2 separate regions of the Homo sapiens genome follow, and region 1 is linked to region 2. Evidence: promoter capture Hi-C in 16 types of primary human blood cells and fetal thymus (Javierre and others, 2016). All regions are on one chromosome and are shown on one strand. The core of a region is centred on a gene start or on the middle of the fragment in contact, and the rest is flanking DNA. Distances in the headings are between cores, read along the strand shown.

Region 1 (6,567 bases), core at 2,882-5,381, 230 kb before region 2:
AGGAAGGAGCCCGGTAGGGGGTGCGCTTTCCCTGGCCTCCCGAGGCGGGATCGGGGCCGGGCTCCACTCGGTGAGAGGATCCTGCCAGCCAGCTGGGTGAAAGACCCACAGAAATCCCGAACTGGCTGCAAGATGCATTGGTAGCTGGCGCCTTTAGTCGGGTTCCTACAGTTTTGCAGAGAAGTCTATGAGTGATCGTTTTCATAAATCCCAAAGTAGGAGTGGAAGCAACCTCCCTTCTTCCTAGCTGCACCCGGAAGCGCAACCCAGCAAAGAGCCTGTCGTTCACCCCTGGGGGATTGTCCCAGGGAAGCCACGTCGCAGAGCCTTCTCTCCTCCTCCACTGCCCATCTCTGCAATCAAGAAGTCTGAATGCAAACCGGGCACCCCCTGTACCTTGGGCTGTTGGATTTAATCAGGGCCATGGTCCAAATGCAATAGGGGGATCAGGGCAGCCCCCAGGCCCCATGATTGGATTAGAAGCTCCTTCATTCCTCAAATACCTGTATGCATTATTCTTTTAAATTTTGAAATATTTCAAACACACAGAAAAGCAGACAAAGAATACTGTAGGGCTCCTATAGAACCACCACCCAGATATAACAAACGTTATTATGTTGCCAAAAGTCTTCCAGTAATTTTTTAAAGAAATAAAAGCTGTTACAGAGTCGGAGAGCTCCAGCATCCCCAACCCCATCCTGTGCCTTCTCTCTCCTCTCCGAGGGAGCCTCTCTCCTGATACTACTGGACTCCTTTCCTACCCAGGCTTCATATGTTATCTATGACATAGCCATAAACAATATGTATTATTGTTTTTATCAAAGTCCAATCAATATTTATTGGATGCCTAGTATGCACCTGCCATTGTTCTAGGCTTTGAGGATAGAGCAATGAAAAACCGAATCCCAATACTCGAGCTTAAATACTAGTAAGGAAGACAAATAAAAAACAAACAAGTATGAGTGTGCTGAAGAAAAATCAGCCAGGAGTGCAGTCCATTGCCTTCCTCGGAGTGGGTCCTATCTTCCTATCATCTTACACTTTTGACTTCTCATCGGAGGTCTTTTTTCCTGTGGGTGTCCCCTTCCCCTGGGTGGTGGAAATTTACAGAGAGGTTTTACATTTGCTTCTGCTGGAAGCACCAGGGGCTCATTTGTTTGTGAATGGTTTGTATAGCTACTTTAGCCTGCGGTTTACATTTGGACTTCACCTCTATGCGAGCTGCAGTCTTGGGATGTCAATATCACATGGCAGACGGTTTTTCCTCCGGCAGATGGTATGTCTCTTTGCCACTCCCCCCAGCCATCAAGAGAAATTTTCCAGCCTTCTTTTCATGGAGGCTGCAGGTTTTTCAAAGGTTTGGGAAGAGGCAGGGTCTTGGGTTTGCTCCCTATGTCAAGCAAACCTGGGCTGCAGGCCACATGTGCTGTTTGTGTGCCGGCCACTGGGGCCAAAGTCCAGGGCCAATATTACTTTTTTACCCCATTTTGTAGTCTCTTTATGCCTCTGGCACCTGGAGAGTTTTATTTCTTTCTTTTCAGCTTGGCTATAAATTTAAATCATTTTTTGGTTATCTTTTATCCAGTGTTTCTATGTGTTTGGAGGATGATGGGGCTCCATTGTCAGCACTGATTACCATGCCGCCAGGTATATAAACCACGCCTTTGTTGGCTTGTCTCAGCCCCTTAAATCTTCCCTCGGATCTCTAGCATTGTGGTTAAAAGCACTGATTCCAGAGCCACACTCTCGTGGTTCAAATTCTGGTTCCACCACTTAATAAACGTGGGCCTGGGGAAAGTTAATTAGCCTCAGTTTCCTCATCTGTAAAGTGGGGACAATCATAATACTGACATCCTTAGATTGTTGGGAAGATTAAATAGATTAGCTTTGGTAAAGTGCTTAGAATTGTGCCTAGAACCTGGTAAGTGCCATATAAGCACTGGCCACTATTAGTTTTGGTGTAATGTCTTTATTGTTAGTTTGCTCTTAATAAACATTCAACTCTTGGAAAATAGAAACCATCAGGTTAATACCACGAATCTAACCTCTAGCATGTTTTGTTTATTCAGTTCTTACTAGTTATCATTTTGGAGAATAGAGACAAGGAATCCATAAGAAGAAGAATCCACGGGCAAGCTGTGGTGGGGACGGATAATCCCATAGGCTGGGCTGTCCAGGTGTGGCCCTGGAAGGGAGTGATCTTTCCACCATGGGGGCCTATAGTTCTTTGATAAATAGATACATTTTTAAATTTAAAAAGGTGTTTCAGCTTTTGGCTCTTTCCTGTGATTTTGAGAAAAGAGTCTGTCTTTTTTACTGGAGTCTTTGTCTTGGCCACTTTTCACTTCCCGTTAGATGGTGTCTAGGAAAGATTTTAAGAATTCCTGTGAGAAACAAATGTGGCTGGTGAGTCTCTCCTCTTGGCATTATGAGTTAAGTGCTCCAGCCCCAGAGGCTGTGCTTCCTGGGCTTTGCTGTAATGCAGTTGGATGTGTCAGGCTGCAAAGATGTTTGCTACAGAAGGACATTCACTCCATAAAGCCCAGGAATCTGGACGTGGGCCCCGGTGTCAATGTTAGGGAATGAGAATAATTGGATACATAGACTTCTATTTTATGCCTTGTTGAAAGCCAATATTGGTTAAGGTGGATGTTTTCCTTCCAATAACAAGTATTCATTGAGCATTTACTAAGTGCCAAGCATTGGCACCCAAAAGGCAACCAGTGTTTCCAGTGTCTTAGACATTCTTCTAGAATTATTTGATACAGGCAAACACACACACACATACACACACACACTGCAAAATTGGCAGCATAGCACACACACTGTTGTGTATCTTGCTTAACATTGTAGCTTGTAGGTCTTTCATAGCAGTACATACACTTGATTATAGCTGCTTCATTCTTTTTAATCACTGCATAGACACACCACATAGATACACCATAACTTATATCAATAATCCCCTACTGATGGACATTTAAGTTGTCTCAAATAATTACCACAAAAAATGCAGTGCATAGTCTTGTATACACATTGTTTCACAGATATATATATATACATATATACATATATATATGTATATATATATGAATATATCCGCAGGATAAGCTCCTAGAAGTGGAACTATGCGATTCTCCCTGCCCTCTTTTCTTTAAAAAACAATTTACATTCATCTTTTCTCAAGTTGGCAAGCAACAGAAATATGTGCTATTAAATGAATGAGTTGGATGTGGGAGGACAGTGTGCCAGAGAGCACTGGACTGAGGATGGGGTCGCACGGTCTTTATTTCAGTCAGGTAACTGGCTGAATGACCCTGGCCATGTCTTTTAACTTCTCTGAACCATAGTTTCTTCATTTGTGAAATGAATCATTGGGTCATTCAAGGCTGGGGAAGAAATATTCATGAACCTAGCATCTTTTTAGAGCATTTACTGTCCTGAGGTCCACTGTAGCTTTCCCCTCATACTTTCAGGCTTCTCCTTGCCGAACTATGTGAGGTCTTGGTCTTGGGTTCTATTAATTTCTGGAGGTTGGTAACCGCTCCAAATGGCTAGCTCCAAGGCCAGCTCCCATTTTGTAAGAACATGTGGTGCAGTGAAAATAGGCCTGGAGAGTTGAAGAGTCCAATCTGGGCTCTTGCGCCAGCTCCATGACACTGGGAAGTTATCTTCTCTTGTAGAACTTCATTCCATTGTTAAGTGGATAAGCCCAGTGAGGTTTTGAAGTTCCAAAAAAGGGCAAAGCCTCATCTCTTACCTTTTACACAGGGACTTTTTGCAGAATAAACATGCCTTATTGTGTTCAGTTTTCAAACATGACTGAGTCCCTATAAGCTTCCTTCCTTCCTGTGGCCACTGTTTGCTCACAGTGGTCGTGGGTCGACTAGAGGAACCCCAGGTAGAGAGAGGAAAGAGAACTGCTGGTGGGAGAGATTAGGCTAATCCCCATAAACCAGCAGGGCCATTAGTGAAATCTTTTCTCAGGATTCCGTCTGTGGTGTCATTGTGACAGAAACCATTTATTACCTGAAGTATGTCCTGAGCCTTCCCAAGAGTAAAGTTGTTCAGAAAACACTGACCTGAGTGTAGGCACCAACGGAAGACCTGAGCAACCTGGAACAACTCCACGCACAGGAAGCCCTTAATTGTTCAGTGATCTGCATTAAGGACTAGTGGCAAAAGGAGAACTTCATGAATGAAAGACCACTACTGGCTGGTAATGGAAGTGTAAACATTACCTTAATGAATGAACTTTGCTAATAATATCATGTTATAAATATTTTAGCTCGAGTTCAGCATAAAGGGATGATTAAGGAAGGTTGAGGGAGTCCATAAACAGAGAAATAGATGGGGTCTTAGCAAAAGGATTTGACTGATGAAATTTTACAAAGTTGAGAAACGTAGATGAATAGAACTTACTGTTGTATAGAAGCTTCTTAAAGTCTCACCTTCTAACAGAATCTTTTTCCATCCTTGAACTGATTTGTCAACATGGACATTCCCATTTTCCTTAATGTTCAGTCTAGGGAGAATCTCACACTAGCACCATCCTCGGATGGGAAAGAAGCTCAGGTGGCTCCTTAAATTGAAGGCTCCTTCTGCCTTCAGGCCATCTGAGACGGCTCTCCTGGGACCCAGCCCATGCAGGCTGCTCAGAAAATGGTTACTATATTGGTCAGATCTTGTCCAAATCAAGCCCCGAAGACATATGCTTGGACATTTTTGGAAGCTCAGTGTATGGGAAATTGGCATCTAGGTCAGACTTTTCACCATACAGCCACAACATGGAGCTTAACTACTATTCTCACTTCCAGGGCTTTCTCACCTGATCCAGCTCCGTTCTTCCCCATGATCACAATGCACCCTCCCGACCTCTGCCCTTGTTGTCTCAGTCATTCTATGCTTACAGACTCCCTGGTCACTGACCACCTTGGGTTGGGCTTCCAGTGATGCTAGTTCTGGGCTCTCTCCTGCTAACCAGAAACTTTCTCTGTCTGCATTTGCCCCATATCCAGATGCCAGGCTTAGAGACTGAGGCTTTGGGAAAAGAACTGCTGAGGCAGTGGCAAGAGACCCAGCTGTGGGCTTGTGAAGGAAGGGAAGTTCTTTGTGCAATCATAGCCATCCCTTCTGTCTGTCTGTTGTTGCCTTTCTCTCCTTGGTTCTTTTCCAGCTCCTTAGACCCTAACTTTCATGGCTCCCCCTGCATGGCTGTGTCACCCTGCAGGTTGACTTCACTCACTAGTTGGCAGCGGGTATGACCCACAGCCTCTCACTGGTTGATCCCACTCTGTTTTAAGCTGGTGTCTAACTTTAGAGCTTAGCCCTTTTCACGTTGCTTCTGACCTATCTGATGGCCCAGCCCTGCTCTGGTGTGTATGTGAAGGGTGGAGGAACCTTTGTCTTCCTCACCTTCAGGTTTCCATATGGTGGAGTAGTGCTGGGGTGAACTCTTGGTCTGCTCTCCACCTCCTTCAGGGTGTGTGGTGCAATCAGCTGGAGTCTGGATCTGCGAGGCCACAATTTCCAGAGGCAGGATCCTTCCATGGAAACAGACAACATGGGCCCATCTTTCTTGCTGTCCCCTAATCCTGCCTGCTGTCCATTACATTGTGCTTTCTCTTCAAATTCCCAGCATCTCCACCCAGGTTCATTCACATTTGGGTGGCAGGTAGGGTTCCCTGAAGGCTCTACAGATGAACCTTCTCAGACCCTCACACTTTGGGTTTAGTAGGAAATATTTTGATCATTTTTAGGCAAATACGGTCTACTTATCAACTGGACAGAACCTGGGAGGGAAGAAAAAGTAAAGAATAGGATCTCCACACTTCCAGGAGGTAGCAAGAATTAAGATGCCATTGATTGCTTCTCTGCTCTGTTGCTAACTCCCAGAGCTTCGCTGGTTTAATTCATTCTAATAGCTTCCTGGCTGCAGCCCCCAGGAAAGTGACCTTCTGATTTATAAATTCTGGGCTGGGCACAGTGGCTCACTCCTGTAATACCAGCACTTTGGGAGACCAAGGTGGTTGGATTGCTTGAGCTCAGGAATTTGACACCAGCCTGGGCAACATAGCAAGACTTTGCCTCTGCAAAAGATACAAAAATTAGCTTGGCATGGTGGTCACCACACCTGTGGTCCCAGCTACTCTGGCAGCTGAGGTGGGTGAATTGCTTGAATCCTGGAAGTCAAGTCTGCAGTGAGCTGTGATCATGCCAGTGAACTCCAGCCTGGGTGATAGAGTGAAACCCTATCTCAGAAAACGAACAAACAAACAAACAAATAAACAAAACATAAATCCAACTTCCTTCCTAAGGAAGTCTTCCTGTACCCCTTTGGGCAAGGGACCTCTCTCAGGCCACATAGTGGACATAGGTGCTGCGTCCTCTTTTGCAATCACACAAGAGCAACCTCTTTCTCCCTTCCACCTGTCCACCCTTCCAGAGCAAAAGACACCGGCAAGTATCCATGTTCTTGTTCTGAGGGGCATGCCATCAGGATTCTGCAATGCTGATTTCAGCACCATCCTGCTGGACTATGAAAATGTCTGGTGCCTTCTGGGCATTTTA
Region 2 (6,251 bases), core at 3,053-5,552:
TTTACTTGGAATGGCCTTTCTAAACTTCTGTACCTAATGAATCCTACTCATGCTTTAAAATCCAGCTCAAATGTTGTCCCCTATGAAGAACTTTGCTAACCTCCCAGACAAAGCGTGTTGCCCAGTTTTCTCAGCAGTCCTCTAGTGTGGAGCTTTTTGCGTAGTACCTCTGTTACATTTACATCCTTCTCCCCAACAAGACCATAAGCATCGTGGGGTCAAGGATGATTTTATAACCCCTGAGTCTGCCAAGCATGGTGTCTGATAACCAACACATTTCATTGCATGAATAATTAAAGAAAACAGAAATAAATGAATGAATAAACAATGCTCTTTTTGTTTTGTTTTGTTTGAGACAGCCTCATTCTATCACCCAGGCTGGAGTGCAGTGGCGCAGTCTCGGCTCACTGCAACCTCTGCCTCCTGGGTTCAAGTGATTCTCCTTCTTTAGCCTCCTGAGTAGCTGGGATTACAGGGGCCCACCACTGCACTAGGCTAATTTTTGTATTTTTAGTAGAGACAGGGTTTCATCACATTGGCCAGGCTGGTCTCAAACTCCTGACCTCAAGTGATCTGCCCGCCTCTGCCTCCCAAAGGAACAATGTTGTTTCTAACAAAATACACCACCTTTCCTGGCCTTCCCACCTAAATGGGTTCCTGGAAATTGTTCTTGGCCAGTATGGGTTGGTGAGGGGCTAGCCAGGGAGCAGAGTCATGTTCGCAAAAGGTGGGCACTCATGAGAGTGGAAGAAGGGAAGTAAGTTCCTATGTCTAGAATAACACTCTCCTAGAAAACATTACATCTGGGGGATTTTTCATTTCTGTGCTTCTTATTTTCACTCGCCTATACTCTTGCACAGGATTGATTTCCAATGAAATTTGATAAGTGATATTTTGTTAAAATGTCCTGATTTTTTTTAATTATTAAATAGCTATAATCCCAGGCCTGAAAAATCCCTTATCCAGTAGCTACAGTTGTTTTTTGAAGCACCGCCACCAAAATTATTCCCCTGGTAATTATTGAGCAATCCGTTTTCACCCATAAGCCTGTCACATGTAATAAGGATGCCTGCCTGCCTGTTTATTTTCTGGCTAATTTGGTCCCTTTACATCATGTGACCTTCAGTGGCCTGTATGCAATATGAAAATCGTCCTCCTAGGACTTTCTTTAGAAGGTTCACAGAGGTGTGCTAAGCATAAGTAATACATCAGTTTTTAAATCCAGGCAGAGCGAACCCATATCAGATGTCTCAGGAAAGCCTGCAATGCTGTTTTATAAAGGGAACAGAAGAGTTTCTTGATCTTTGCTATTCTCTGCAAGAAAATATCTCACCTAAGTACATCCTTTCGTATGCACTCTGTAGCAGGACATTTACAGGGTCAGAGAAAAAGACACTAAAAACTTACCCAAGCTGTTAGCTCATATTTATTAACTGCTTAATATAGGCCAGGGTGCAAAGGCCTTTATATGCTTTGTTTAATCTTCCCCCAAACCCTGGGAGATTTTTATCCCAGTTCTGCAGATTAGCAGACTGAAACACAGAGAAGTTGTAACTTACCCAAGGTCACCTGGCTGTGGATGCCAGAGTAAGCATTTATTTTAATTGATACATAATAATCATACATATATAGGTACATAGTGATATTTTGATACATACAATACATAGTGATCCCATCAGGGTAATTAGCATATTTGTCATTTCAAACTTGTATCATTTCTTTGTTTTGGGGCATTCAATATCTTCTCTTCTAGGTATATGAAAATATACAATACATTATTGTAACTATAGTCATCCTATAGTGCTATAGAACACTAGAACTTATTCCTTCTATCCAGCTGTAATTTTGTATCCTTTAATAAATATTTTATCCTCTCTCCCCCGTACACTTCCCAGCCTCTAGTATTCTCTGTTCTACTTTTTACTTCTTTGAGATCAGCTTTTTTAGCTTCTGTGTATGAGTGAGAACATGCGGTGTTTAACTTTCTGTTCCTGGCTTATTTCACTTAACATAATGTCCTCCAGGCTCATTCCTGTTGCTGAGAATGACAGAATTTCATTCTTACTTATGGATGAATGGGATTCCTTTATGTATATATACCACATTTTCTTTATCCATTCATCTGTTGTTGAATACTTGGGTTGATCCATATCTTGGCTATTGTGAACAATGTGGCAATAAACATGGTGGTAGATATCTCTTTGACATACTGATTTCCGTTCCTTTGCATAAACGCCCAGTCATGGGAATACTGGATCTTATAATAGTTCAGTTTGTAGTTTTTTTCAGGTACCTCTGTACTGTTCTCCATAGTGGCTGTACTAGAATGCATTCCCACCAACAGTGTATACGAGTTCCCTTTTCTCTGCATCCTTGCCAGCATTTGTTATTTTTTGTGTTTTTGATAATACCCAGAGTATGCTTTTGAAGTCAGGTCTTTCTGGCTCCACAGTCTGAAGGTGTAACACTACCCCAGGCTGCCTCTCCATAGCATGTTTCCTGATTTCTGGTTCAAGAAGACTTTTTCTAACAGGTGTCATTCCTAGATGGCTCTCTTAAGATCTTACTCCCTTTGGCATTTTACACCTTACTCATACAATCATTTTTAAAAAATAGCAATTTAAAAAAATACAGTTCAAGTGTTCATCATATCCAGGCATGCAAGCCTTTTCTAAATTTTTTTAAATAATAAAAAAGCCCCACAGAGGAAAGGAGGTTATTTGTGTCCTCCTGACACACACTTTTAGATTTTGGTTAAAAAGTCTCTAGTGGGTGCAAAGTGACCCCCTTTGTCACTGGAAACAAATAGGAGCATTCTTTGTGCCACTGTCCACAACCACACAGATATGTTTCCCAAGGGAGCTCATCAGGTCTTCAAACATTTAGCAAGCATGACATGTGTAAGAGACAGTATTGGAGAAGTAAGACAAGCCTTGCTCTGCCGAAGCTTACAATCCAGGAGCTCACCCCTTCAAGGAATTTACAGCCTCCAGACAGATAATAACATTAGGTCCATGAAAGCCTACAAGGCAAGAAGTTCAGGAGAGAAAGAAGTCATAACCATCTTGGAAGAATCTCAACTTGTTTTATCAGAACTCAAACGCCAATTTCTCACCCCTAGCTTCCCTCATTAGTGCTTATTAACTAGTATTGGGAGGACCAAGCGAAGAGTAAAGCTAGGGTAGCAGAGGCCATAAGCTAATTGCAAAGGACAGAGCTAAAGAAACATGCTAGTTTCCCCTGAGCACCCAACTGCATGACTGAAAATGGATTAATTTGTATTTCTAATGGATATACAAGAAACACGTGAATATGCTAAAATAAATTTAAGGTCAAGCAATGCAAAGTGTTAGTGCGTTTGCCTTCCACTCTCAGAGGCAGCCTCTATTATTTGGTTCTTGGGCTGCTTCATAAAAAGTTCTGTGTTTTTTAATGGCCTCAGCTTTTGGGAGGCTCAGGCCACCTAGCCCATCAGGAGACCAGGCCCGAAGGATGGATCTGAAGAGTGGGCAACGGAGAGTTAAACCAGGGCTGACTTCAACAGGCCCAGTCAAGTCAGGGGCAAGCACATTGTCCATCCACTGGAAGACGGAAAGGGGAGAGGAAGGCAGGCCCTCCCGACTCACAGGTCACCTCGCAACTTTGCTAGGCACTACCCACCCTTTAGGGATAAGTGAAGTATGTGGTGGGCATACAAGGCGCACAGGGGAGTCATTCTGGCAAATTCCAAGAAGGTTTTAAGGGCTCCCGAGGCAGGCAGGCCCAGTTGCTGTTTGGAGCTTCCTTTGGGGTGGGAGGATGGCGGGGGCAGGGGGCCGGGGCGGTGCCTTAACGAGGGGAGATGCTTTTAAATAGCTGCCTTCCAAAAACCATCCTCCCTGCTTCTTTGAGAAGCACCCAGCTGTTGTTTACCCTCCAGGACAGCAAATCCGGTTATTTGTCTCTCTATTCCGTGATATTATAAAGTAATGAATGGTCCATTAAACTAAGTTTGGGATCCCGTCTCCCCACAGCCACCTCCTCGCCGGCACCCTCAGCCGGGGAGGCCGTAGGCTCGGGCTGCAGCCTGGCAGCCTCAGTCCCCCTCCCTCCACCATTTCCCTCTACTCCCTCCCTCTCCTGCACCCCCTCCCCCCGGTTATTTGGGAGATTAGAGTTCATTAATTAAATCCTGTGCTTAGATCGAACTGTAACATTATTCCAATCACATTTATCTTGCAGGCGGCGGAGGAGATGGCAGCCTCGCTGGAAACGCGCGGGGGAGCCTGAGCCGGCGGCCGGGGACGCACGGCGCTGCGCGCTCCTTCGCCACGCCGCCGCGCAGCCCCTCCATCTTCCTGCTCGGCACCGGGCCCCGCGCGCCCCTGCCTACGGGGTCCCGCTGCTCTCCGGGGCTCCTGCCAGCCCCAACCCCCGGCCCCGGTGGCCTCCCCCCACCCCCGCCCGGGTCCCCCTCCTCCGCCACACGCGCGCGCGCTCACACACACACACACACACACACACACACACACACACATATATACACGCCAGCGAGCTGCTGGCCGCTCAATGGACCGATTTCCCCGGTTTCCCTGAACCCAGCCCAGCCCGGGATGAGAAACTGCAAAATGGCCCGGGTCGCCAGTGTGCTGGGGCTGGTCATGCTCAGCGTCGCCCTGCTGATTTTATCGCTCATCAGCTACGTGTCCCTGAAAAAGGAGAACATCTTCACCACTCCCAAGTACGCCAGCCCGGGGGCGCCCCGAATGTACATGTTCCACGCGGGATTCCGGTGAGTGCGGGCCTCTGTGTTAGTGCCCTCGGGAATTTGGTTGATGGGGTGTTTGGGGAAGGGAAGGCGTGGGGGAGGGGTGTTTTGGCCTCTCCGAGACTCTTTGGGCCAGATAACTGCGCGGTCCTTCCACTCCTCTCTCTAATTCTCCCTTCCCCCTCCCTGTTATTTTTTTTTTAACCCAAAGCCCCTAGAAGCCGCTGTCCAAATCGATGTGATTGCATTTCTCGTATTCTTCCTCAGCATCCCTTCCCTCATTTCAGAAATGGGGGTTGGGGGAGGCTTTCAGGAGGGTGAGGGTGGAGGGAAAGACGGTGTGTTTGTTCGGGAGGGGGCGGCGAGCAGAGATGGACAGGCGTGAGGGGAGCGCCCTCCCCGCGCCCTGTCCGCAGACTCCGCGGGCCGGGCCCGGGGCGGTGCTGGCGGTTTAATGGCGCAGGCGCCGGACTCCCCTCGCGCCCTCCTCCTTTACTCCCCCACGCCTATCAAAGGACACGCGGGTTTATTCTCAGGAAGCCCCTGGGGCGTTCTCTCTCAACCCTTTCCCCCGCAGCCACCGCCCCCCACCAGCTTTCCGGGATTTCTGCAATTCCCCCGCCCCCTGCGGGAAGCGAGCCTCGGAAGGGCCGCCCACCCTCGCCAGGTCGGAGTCACCGCTCCGCGCTGGGCCGGCCTGTGAAGGCTCCAGGCGCAGCTTGACGCCGCTCTGCGAGAGCCCCCGCCCCGCTCTGTGACCCCGGGAACTCTCCCAGCAGGGCCTCCTGACGGGCAGGTGGCAACTACAAAGTGCCACCTGTGGTCCAAGCTGGGACCGAGGCGAGGAACCCAGAGGAGCCTCGCCTGGACCGAGGAGCGGAGTAGGCCGGCGGCCCCCGGGGGTCCCCAGCCAAGTTATAGGAAGTGAAATCGGACGTGGGTTTGGGAAGGAAGAGGTTAAGGCAGGAACCACCCCCAGACTTTCCCTGGGTCTCCGGTTTCCTCTGCCCTTTCTCCAAAAACAATTCTATGGGGCTGCAAAGGCGTAGCGGGTCAGGCTGGCGGGGCGGCCGCTGTCCGCGGTGCTGATTCCCTGGTCCTCGCAGCGCCGCGGGCTCCAGCCCTGCGCCCGGCGTGCGCCCTGCTCTCCGCATGACGGCCATTTTATGGTCTCTCCGGCACCCGGAGGGATGGACAATGCAGATGGGGTTCCCTAGTTTTCTTTTTTTCTCTCGGGTGTGTGTGGGAGCAGAGGGTGGACCAAATGAGAGGGGCTCCGGGACGGAACGGAGCCCGCACGCGTACCAGCCGCCCTCGCCCCAGCCGCTGCACTTTAATGGCTACCTCGGCTTCCCCGAGCTGAGGCCAGCACGCTTGTCTGTGCTCATGCTCCTCTCCAGGTCACAATTTGCGCTGAAGTTTCTAGACCCGTCATTCGTGCCCATTACGAATTCTCTCACCCAGGAACTCCAAGAGAAACCTTCTAAGTGGAAATTTAATCGGA

The links. Contacts are between HindIII fragments. The CHiCAGO score rates a contact against its expected background, and 5 or more counts as called.
Region 1: a contact is called between a fragment that was not itself captured here and the fragment with the promoter of ST8SIA3 in region 2, in 1 of 17 cell types (endothelial precursors). The highest score is 6.3, in endothelial precursors.

What each region holds. Positions count from the first base shown.
Region 1 is chr18:57,121,894-57,128,460 of GRCh38, forward strand. No RefSeq gene overlaps it. Among named protein-coding and RNA genes, the nearest start is that of BOD1L2, 22 kb to the right of the region's middle. The HindIII fragment of the contact is 598 bases long and covers 3,833-4,430 here.
Region 2 is chr18:57,348,255-57,354,505 of GRCh38, forward strand. ST8SIA3 (ST8 alpha-N-acetyl-neuraminide alpha-2,8-sialyltransferase 3) reads left to right here and starts at 4,303. Exons shown (of 4, transcript NM_015879.3): 1 at 4,303-4,771; 2 at 6,148-6,251. The coding sequence starts at 4,593. The HindIII fragment of the contact is 6,120 bases long and covers 2,946-6,251 here.